2 separate regions of the Homo sapiens genome follow, and region 2 is linked to region 1. Evidence: promoter capture Hi-C in human tissues and cell types (Jung and others, 2019). All regions are on one chromosome and are shown on one strand. The core of a region is centred on a gene start or on the middle of the fragment in contact, and the rest is flanking DNA. Distances in the headings are between cores, read along the strand shown.

Region 1 (4,998 bases), core at 1,148-3,647:
AGGAAGGGGAGGAGGTGGGAGAGAGTGTGCAGGGGAGGGCTGACGCTTAGATGCCTTGGGAAGTCTTCTGTTCCACCAGACAAATTCTTTCTACGAGTTCCTTCCAGAGCTCAGTATCACCAGAGGATGCAGTCAGAGGGCAAGGAGACCGGAAGGGGTTCTGGTGTGTCTGTGAAATTTGGCTGCAGGGTCTAAATGAAATTGAGCTTTGGGCCAAAAGAATCTTCATAAAACTAAAAACAGACCAAACCCCAAACCTGCTTCTGAGATCTCACTGATGCCCTGTGATTCCCTATTACTTTGGCTGCCAGGAAGCTCGGAGCTCAATTTGGTACTCAAGGGCTAAAAATAACCCTCTTATCTTTTTTTCCTCCCTCTGAATGACTGCTCATCCCTCTTCTCATATAAAGGTTCTGTTTTGTGAGTTTTAATAATGGGAACAATCTCAAGTTTTGGAGAAAAACAAACAGGGTATAAATTACGAATAAATCCATAAAGTGGCCTCAGGTCTTAAGGCCTTGCTGTGTCTTAAGGCAGATGCATAGTTCAGTCCCAGACCAGACACAACCTCACTGTGGCAAGTGGAAGATTTGGGAGCCAGCAGATACTTAGCCTATACCCAACACAGATGTGACTTCCAGGACCAGGAAGGAGAACACCCAGGCCTTGGTCCCCACCATCTTTCCCCCAAGCCCGTGGGAACGTGGCAAGAGGTAGATGTGGGTGCTTCACAGAGTCACTGACTCTGGAATGCGGTCCCCTGGGAAGTTTCTCAGATCCAGTGACCTGTAAAGAAACAAAGCTTGTCAGGTTTCATATTTCTGAATCACCGCTTATGGCTCAAGCAGAAATATTTCTTGACCTGTCAAGGAGGGAAAGGTGGACAGAATGATATGAAAGTGATATCTGCCTGAGTTGTGAAACCAGGTAGCTTGGGAGGTGCAGAGGCTCAGAATCTGAGTTCAAATGAGGCAGACTAGGTTCCATCCCTGGGGGTAGGCTCCAGGGCCCCACATGGAGATGAGGCACAAGGACAAGCAGGGGCGAGGAGGTTCCTTGCAATGAGGAGAGTCCAGGGCTCACCCCCAGCAGCCTCTTGGTGACTCGTCACTTCTAAAACCCAGGCCTGAGGGGCATTTGTTTTGCCATCCTTTGATGGAGTTCACACTCTCACACAGGCGGGTACATATTAAGGCCGTGAAGACTTGGCTCCGACTCCAGTGGCCTCTCATAAGGCAGGCTGGCTGGAGGGTGCAGATGCCTCGGACATACCACCTCCATGAACACATTCCCAGATGTGCACGGGCTGCAGCTGGAACACATTTCTGGCCTTTTTGTTTGGGGCCTGACTGGGAGTTACACAGCCAGGAGCCAGCTGACGGAAAGCAGAGGGGATGCATTGTGAGAGGCCAGGGCTCCCCAGTAACTGCTGAGCGTGGGTGAGGAACTGCAAGGGTCAGGAGAGGAAAGCAGGCCTGGGACAAGGGCAAGGAACTATGGGGCGTGCGTGGCCCAGGCCGCAGCTGAGCAGAACATTTTTATGTCTCCCCAGAGCTCCGGCCAACCCAGAATCTGACTCGTTTCTGGGGATTCAAAAGTGGTTCCCTTCAACATCCTAAGTCCAGGGTGTGGTAGGAAAGGGAAGAGTCCTCCTCTCTAAAAAATACACATATCTGAAAACACTGGGATATTCCAGGGGAAGAAAAAACCAGTCCCATGCTGCAGACCTTCTAGCTCTAAAACCACTGGCCCCACCACTACCTGTTTCTCGGATGAGGGAGCAGAGTCACCAGGACGTCCCAAAGGCCTCCACATTGTGTGTATCCCTCTGGGCTCCAAGCAGGGAGCTGAGCAGTCTGCTGGCCTGCACTGCATTCAGCCTGAGCCTGAGCCTGCTCCAGGGATGTCTGGAGGCTGAGGTGGCCTGAGACACCTTGTGGAAAAACCATTTCCCATCTGGCAGCCCACAGAGGTTTCTCAGCATCTCCGCCGTTTCCTCAGCATATGCCCTGATGGTTAGGCTTGCCATCCCACGCTCCTCAGAACACTTGGACAAAGCAGACTGGCTGACCGCAGGGAATAAAGCAGGGCACCCAGAGGTATGGAAACCCTAAGTGGGACCATCTGGGGGTTCCTGTCCTCAGGTGGGGGAGGGAGAGGACTTTGGGCCAATGGGGGAAAGCAGATTCCCAAAGCAGAAAGGGAGTCTTCTCTGTGGGAGATGAAGGATCAGGCAGCAAAAAGTGGGGGGAAGTGGGGAGAAGGGAATGGAGTAGTCAGGGGAGGGCAGGAGCAGTTGAGTCCAGCAGTGGGGTGCAGGGATGGGGTGAGGGGAATAGGAGTGGAGCTCACCGTGTCTTGAGCAGGACTCCTCAGCTGGGGGTCCAAGCCTTCGCCTCTCCAGCAGTCCAGTGCCGGCCTTATATAGCACAGCTGGTGGCTCAGCCTGTGGCAGCCAGCCAGAGGAAGCAGCAGCGAAACCAGATCTGAGCATGAGCCTCCCTCTCCCCTCCCCATGTCCCCTTGCAGTTCACAGAGGCCAGGATTTTATGTCCAGATCCTAAGGAGGAGATGCCGCAGGACCTGGTGATGGGCCAGGTGGGCAGTGGCCTGGGGCATCACAGTCCAGAGCAGAGAGAGGGGTCAGGAGGTGGGCTGGGCACTAGAAACAGCCCTGGGAAGGGGCCACGGGGAATTCTAGATCTGGGCAGCATTTCATGGCCCGGGGGATGGTGTGCTCTTGCCTAAGCCTAGCTTGCTGATGCCCCACATTCCCCTGGCCCTGGCTCGCCCACACAGAGAAAAGACTTTGCTGGTCTTAGCACATACTCCAAACACTCTTAGGCACACAGGCCACCTTGGCCTCTCAGCTGGGTGTGTCTGGTCTGAGTTGGGCAACTACTCAGCTTCTCTGGCTTCTGAGGGAACACTCAGGGAACCTCAGAAGGGATAAGGGACAAAAGAATTGTGGGGCATAGGTTGTCAGCTGGTGAGAACAGTTCTTCCTTTCTCCCCCCCACTTCCATCTGAGTGCCTGCTGGTACCCACTGAGACCCCAGAGCTCCAGCATGTGGACTCTTCTGAGACCCTGATGCTCATATATGTGCATGCGTGTGAGTACGTGTCTGCCTTCAGGTATAGGCATCCACCAGCATGTGAACAGCCAGTGTTACCCATAGGGGGCGTATGCAGCTGCATGTGCTCTGGGGCTTCACACCCCCACTCCCGGCCCCCTGGCCCCAGCATGAGGTTATCTGTTTGCACAGACACTGGTTCTCTAATTTTAGCATGTGTTAGAATCACCTGGAGGGCGGTTAAAGCAGATTTCTGGACCCCACACCCAGAGTTTCTGATTCAGTGGGGCCTGAGACTTTGCATTCTAACAAGTTCCCAGATGAGATTGATGCTGTTGGTTCATGGATCACATTTTGAGATTGACTGGTCACAGTGATAGAGCCCCAGTTGAAGGAAGAAGATGAAGAGCGAGTGTACTAAGGACCACAGTGGGAGCTTCCCAGGTCCTGCCCCATGTAGCAGGCTCATCTAGCCTGGGCTGGGCTTCCTGCCTCATGCCAGCAACTGGAGATGGAGGCCTGGTCCTGTGGCCATCCACGCCAGGGTCAGCTCACTCTCTCCACATACCTTTACCGAGCTCTTATTCCCAGGCTCTAGACTGGGCACTGGGAAGGCACAAGAAAAGAGATGTATCCTTGCACTCAGAGGAAAGAGCCTCACGTGGAAATGATCCCGTAGTACAACAGTGCATACCCACATGCCAGAGAGTTCTGTGTGTGTGTGTTTATGCCTTTTCCTGTGTGTATGTGTCTTTCTGTGTGTGTGTGTGTATGTGTGCGTAAGAGCTGTTTTTTCTGAGCATTGCCTTTGACAAGATATACTGGGAGGCTGGGTGGAGTGGCTCACGCCTGTAATCCCAACACTGTGGGAGACAGGGGCGGGTGGATCACTTGAGGTCAGGAGTTCAAGACCAGCCTGGTCAACATAGTGAAACCCATCTCTACTAAAAATAGAAAAACTAGCCAGGCATGGTGGAGTGTGCCTGTAATCCCAGCTACTTGGGAGACTGAGGCAGGAGAGTGGCTTGAACCCAGGAGGCAGAGGATGCAGTGAGTTGAGATCGTGCCACTGCACTCCAGCCTGGGTGACAGAGTGAGACTTGGTCTAAAAAAAAAAAAAAAAAAATCTGCTGGGGAAGAGAGTGGGGGTGGAGAAAGGATGTTGAGCAGCATGGTTCCCAAGTAGACCTGGGGCATAGATCTGATTTGCTTTATCTCCTGGAGCCCCGTCTCCCTCCTGGCCACCAGCCCTTGGTTCATAAGCCCTGTAGTTGGCCCTAGTCTGGTCCAACTTGTCAGAGCCAAGCCATGACTCAGTTTCAGCCATGGCTTTGACTGCAGACGTCTGAACTGAGTGAACCCCATGTGAAATCTGATGGCCTAAGGAATAGACAGACAGACAGGCTGAGCCACAATCCCCAGATCAAAGGACAGGAGAAAAATTGAAATTTGGAATTCAGAAGCCTAGTCCTGGCTGTTTCTGATTCTGATATGCGACCGTGAACTAGCAAGAACCCAAGTAACCCTGGGCCTCAGGTGTGCAACGGGAGATGGACTGAGTGAGTTTGCAGGCCCCTGCCAGCTCTGAGATTGCAAGGTTTGAGATATACAGATGCTCTTTGGCTTATAGTAATGTCCCAATAAACCCACTGTAAGTTGAAAATATCATAAGTAAAAAAAATACGCTTAATGCACCTAACCTACTGAACATCAGAACTTAGCCTAGCCTACCTTAAATATGTTCAGAACACTTACATTAGCCTACAGTAGCCTACAGTTGTACGAAACCATCTAACAAAAAGCCTATTTTACCATAAAGTATTGATTATCTCATGTGATACATTGAATACTGTACTGAAAGTGAAAAACACAATGGTTGTACAGGAAAGTACAGTTTCTACTGAATTTGTGTCACATTTGCACA
Region 2 (4,559 bases), core at 1,113-3,612, 150 kb after region 1:
GTCTCCAGGACTCCCCTGGCTTCTCTGACCTGCTCACACGAAGCCTGAACAAAAGGTGCCCCCACTGGCAAGGGGTGAGGGTGGGTGGGGGGGTGCACAGAACTCCACACTCCAGAAATGCCTGGGCCTTACTCATCCTCTCCCCTTCAGAATGACTGATGACAGGGCCGTGCCCCCTCCCATTTTCCACAAAGACAAACTGAGGCTCAGCAGTGTTCAGGGAGGGAGCTTGAACCCAGAGCCGGTCGTCAGTGCAAGACTGTCTGCATCTTGCACTGGGTCCAGCAACATGAGGTGTCAGACCCACCAACGGTCCTGTCGGGGTGAGAATACATGGGGTTTTATTACCAGCGAGGTTTGGGGATTTTTTTTTTTTTTTTTTTTTTTTTTTAGACAGAGTCTCGCTCTGTCACCCAGGCTGGAGTGCAGTGGCCCCATCTCAGCTCACTGCAGCCTCCGCCTCCCGGGTTCCAGCGATTCTCCTGTCTCAGCCTCCCGAGTAGCTGGGATTACAGGTGCTTGCCAAGCCACCACACCCGGCTAATTTTTGTATTTTTAGTAGAGATGGGGTTTCACCATGTTGGCTGGTCTGGTCTGGAACTCCTGACCTCAGGTGATCTGCCCGCCTCAGCCTCCCAAAGTGCTGGGATTACAGGCGTGAGCCACCACCCCCAGCTGGTTTGGGGGTAAATTCTAGGTTGTCTTTGATTTCGCCCCACAAAAGCCCACAGGTGGAAAGGGGTTAGGTTGGGAGGGAAACATAAAAGGATGCTCATGGCAGACAGGGTCACAAACCTGGGCTCATATTCCGGGAATGATGAGCCCCCAAAACCAAGGGCCTTCAGGATGGGGATGGGAACCAGAACCCTCACCAGAAGTCAGGCTGGGGAGCGAGTGTGTAGCACTGAGCATCCAGGGCCGCCTGCTGGACCCCCAAGAGGGTGTGGTTTGGTGCTCCCTGGAAGCAGTGGTCCCCTATTCTTGGCTGTCACTCCAGAGACCCAATGCTTGCCCAGCCCCAGAGTCGGCCCCGTGGGCGTGTAATTCCACAAGGCTGTAGGCCACCTTCCCTGGGGGCTGTGGCTATTGCCCAGGCAAGGGGACAGGACAAGGACAATCAGCTGTCTCAGCTCCTCCAGGATGATTATGGCTTCTCCCTGCTGCCCACCCCCGCCACCCGCCTCCTGCCAGGACCCCTGGGGAGAAGGAGCCTTCTCAAGCCATTCCAGTTCCTCTCCTGTGATTTGTTCTGAATTTTCAAACAAAGAGTAATTATGACAGATGTGGAGCAATCAGCATCATTATGCGGAAACAAGAAAGGGAAAGGGAGCAAAGAGGAGGGGGGAATTTGTCTTTCCTCCTCAGGAAGAAGCAACTCCCACCTCTACCTCCAGCAGCCCCAGCCACCTCCCAGCTTCCTCTTCACTCAGGAACCCATTCCCAGCCAGCTCTTGCCCGCCTCACAGGTAGAGCAAGACTTGTCTACACAGAGCCTCCTGTAACTGGGATGTCCCAGCAGCAGCTGGGTCATGGAGTATGTAATCCTGCCTGGCCCACCCAGAAGTGGCTCCCACCTTGGCCAGGGTTCTAAGCTGTCCTCTGTTCTCTACACTCCCCTACTCTCACATTACATGCCTCCAGGTATCTGCTTTTATTTCTGAGGCATAAATACTGATAGGTTCTCCAGGGGTGTGAGCCCCTGCTAGAGACATTCAGGCCAGTGAATTTTTTGGGTCAGGCAGAACTGGGTTGAAATCCCAGCTTCCCCACTTACTGTGTACCCTCGGCCAATTTAATTAATCATTCTGGGATTTCGTTTACTCATCTGTAAAACAGGGCTAGTAATTCCTATTAATGGAATTGTGGGAATTAAATAAATTAGCACACAAAGGGCCTAGAACAGTGCAGCCCCATATTACTCTGACCACATTTACTGTTACTAACTAGTTCTCTACAAGAACCAGCACATAGGTAGCCCTCACACCTGCTGAGCTCAGCCTCCAGGGTGCTTTGGAAACTCAGAGACCCTCTGCAATCTGCCATGGAGGTCAGGAGCCCACATCCAAGGCTTAACAAGCCCACACCCACAGATAAACCAGAGCAGCACGAAAGAAAAACAGAGGGGCCGGGGCAGTGGCTCACACCTGTAATCCCAGCACTTTGGGAGGGTGAGGTGGGAGGATTGCTTGAGGAGTTTGAGGCCAGCCTGAAAAACGTGGTGGAACCTAATCTCTACCAAAATACAAAAATTAGCCCGGCGTGGTATTGTGTGCTTGTAGTCCCAGCTTTTTGGGAGGCTGAGATGGGAAGACTGCTTGAGCCCAGGAAGTTGAGGCTGCCCTGAGCCAAGATCGCACCACTGAACTCCAGCCTGGGTGACAGAGTGAGACCCTGTCTCAAAAAAGAAAAGAAAAAGAAAAATAGAACATGCACGCCAGTGTTTCCTAGGGGAGGACCATATAAGACTCCTCCTTTCTGAACCAGAGGGCAGTGAAGAGTGAGGCACTGGGGAAGGCCAGGGTTCAGAAGCCTGATAAACCAGAGACTCCCTTACCTGCCCAGACTGGAGGACCAGCCATGTCCTTGGGCAGGTCACTCACCTGGGGCTTCGGTTTCCAAGTCTGTAAAATGAGAAAGCTGGGCTAGATGAGCACCAAGGTTTTTCCCGAAGCTCTAATCCTACCAGGAGACCGGGAAGACCCCTAAGGACCTAAGGGGGTTGGGAATTTCAGGATTCTATTGCTGCAGCCTGCGACTCAATGAAAGGGCTAGAACTTGTGTCTCTCTCACGGTGGTCTGTCCCCTCCTCCATTCAGGTGGTCTGGTCTCCATCTTCCCACCCCAGGACCCTGTGGCCTCTTGATAGTACCCCCACCCTCACATTCCAATGGCCTTGGGGGCAGCAGCCAGACCAGAAAGTCCAGTTCCTGCCCATTATCACTGCCTGCATCTGCACTGCAACCTAACACCAGCATTCCAGAGAGCAGCCCAGGGCTGCCCCCACCACCCACTGTGGTCAGTGTCAGTGTCAGTGTCCAGGCTCAGAGACAGGCCCCAACCAGGGTTGGGCCCAGGGTTCTCAGATTCCTTTCAGGAAAGGTCTGCCCCCAGAGAGCCCCTGACTTGCTGGGGGGCTATGGACCCCATCCTTTGTTGCCCTCTTTGAACCTTATCTTCCCAGTCTCTCTCCTTAGTCTCTGCAGAGGCCCGAGCTCACCTACTTCTGCTTCTGAAACAGAAATCCCACTCTAGACAAGGCAGAAGATGGTAAACACAGGAACTCTCACAAAACTGAAGAAAGAGGCAGGCCGGGCACAGTGGTTCACACCTGTAATCCCAGCACTTTGGGAGGCCAAGGTGGGAGGATGGCTTGAGGCCAGGAATTTGGACCAGCCTTGGCAACATAGTGAGACCCTCATCTCTACAAAAAATTTTAAAAATTTGGCCGGGTGCAGTGGCTCATGCCTGTAATCCCAGCACTTTGGGAGGCTGAGACGGGTGGACCACTTGAGGTCAGGAGTTCGAGACCAGCCTGACCAACATGGTGAAACCCAGTATCCACTAAAAATACAAAAATTGGCTGGGCGTGGTGGCAGGCGCCTGTAGTCCCAGCTACTCGGGAGGCTGAGGCAGGAGACTCATTTGAACCCGGGAGGTGGAGGTTGCAGTGAGCCGAGATTGAGCCACTGCACTCCAGCCTGGGCAAAAGAGACAGACATTGTCTCAAAAAAAAAAAAAAAAAAAAAACTAGCTGGATGAGGTGACACATGCCTGTAGTCCCAGCTACTCAGGAGGCTGAGGTTGGAGGATCTCTTGAGCCCAGGATTTCAAGGCCAAGATCACTCCACTGCACTCCAGCCTGGGCAGCAGAGTGAGATCCTATCTCTAAAGAAAAAGAAAGAGGCAGGAAGAAGGATAGAACAATAAAGAAAGAGAAGGAGGGAGGAGGAGCTGGAGAAAGGAAGAAGCTTGGGAGGACAAGGCAGGAGAAACTAGGACTGAGGGATATGAAAGACCAATATATGAAATGTGGCCTCACAGGAAGGCAGAGGGGGCAGCAGGGGGTGGGGAGTGTCAAAGACCAAGGAGCATGGACATCAAGACCCAGAGAAGAGAGAGAGAAGGGCGGGTGGAGCCCCTAGGGCACCAGCCCTTTGCATCACATTTCCTTCCTGCCTGAGTCAGGTGAGCCAGTCCTGGCCCCCCACCGGCTTGCCTGCATTAAGCCCACCCCGGCCCCTGCATCTCCCTGCAGTCTGGGGGTCTGCCAGCAGCTCCCCCGGCTTGCCACTCTTCAGGCCTCTCTGCTCAGCCCCCAGCTTCCCACCTTCACTGGGTCTCAACATCTATCGTGAGTCCAGGTGCCCACAGAAAGCCCTCTCTTCTGCTCTCCTTACATCTGAGGGCAGCCACAGAGGCATTTCTTAAAAGAGGGTGAACAAAGTTGGGGGCAGGGAGAGCAAGCTCAGAAATCAGGGAGAGGTTCTTTTGTGGGGATGGTGCAGTGCAGGCCAGCAGGCTTGCCAGAGTGCAGCTAGATTTTGGGCAGCCACCCATTG

The links. Contacts are between HindIII fragments. The study calls those that stand out against the background at their distance.
Region 2: a contact is called between a fragment that was not itself captured here and the fragment with the promoter of CILP in region 1, in 1 of the 25 tissues and cell types used here (bladder).

What each region holds. Positions count from the first base shown.
Region 1 is chr15:65,209,076-65,214,073 of GRCh38, forward strand. CILP (cartilage intermediate layer protein) reads right to left here and starts at 2,398. Exons shown (of 9, transcript NM_003613.4): 1 at 2,353-2,398; 2 at 620-786. The coding sequence starts at 680. RefSeq lists an enhancer at 3,027-3,928. The HindIII fragment of the contact is 7,172 bases long and covers 233-4,998 here.
Region 2 is chr15:65,362,483-65,367,041 of GRCh38, forward strand. The region is part of intron 2 of IGDCC3 (immunoglobulin superfamily DCC subclass member 3); the gene reads right to left. Among named protein-coding and RNA genes, the nearest start is that of IGDCC3, 13 kb to the right of the region's middle. RefSeq lists an enhancer at 575-1,440. The HindIII fragment of the contact is 5,574 bases long and covers 1-4,559 here.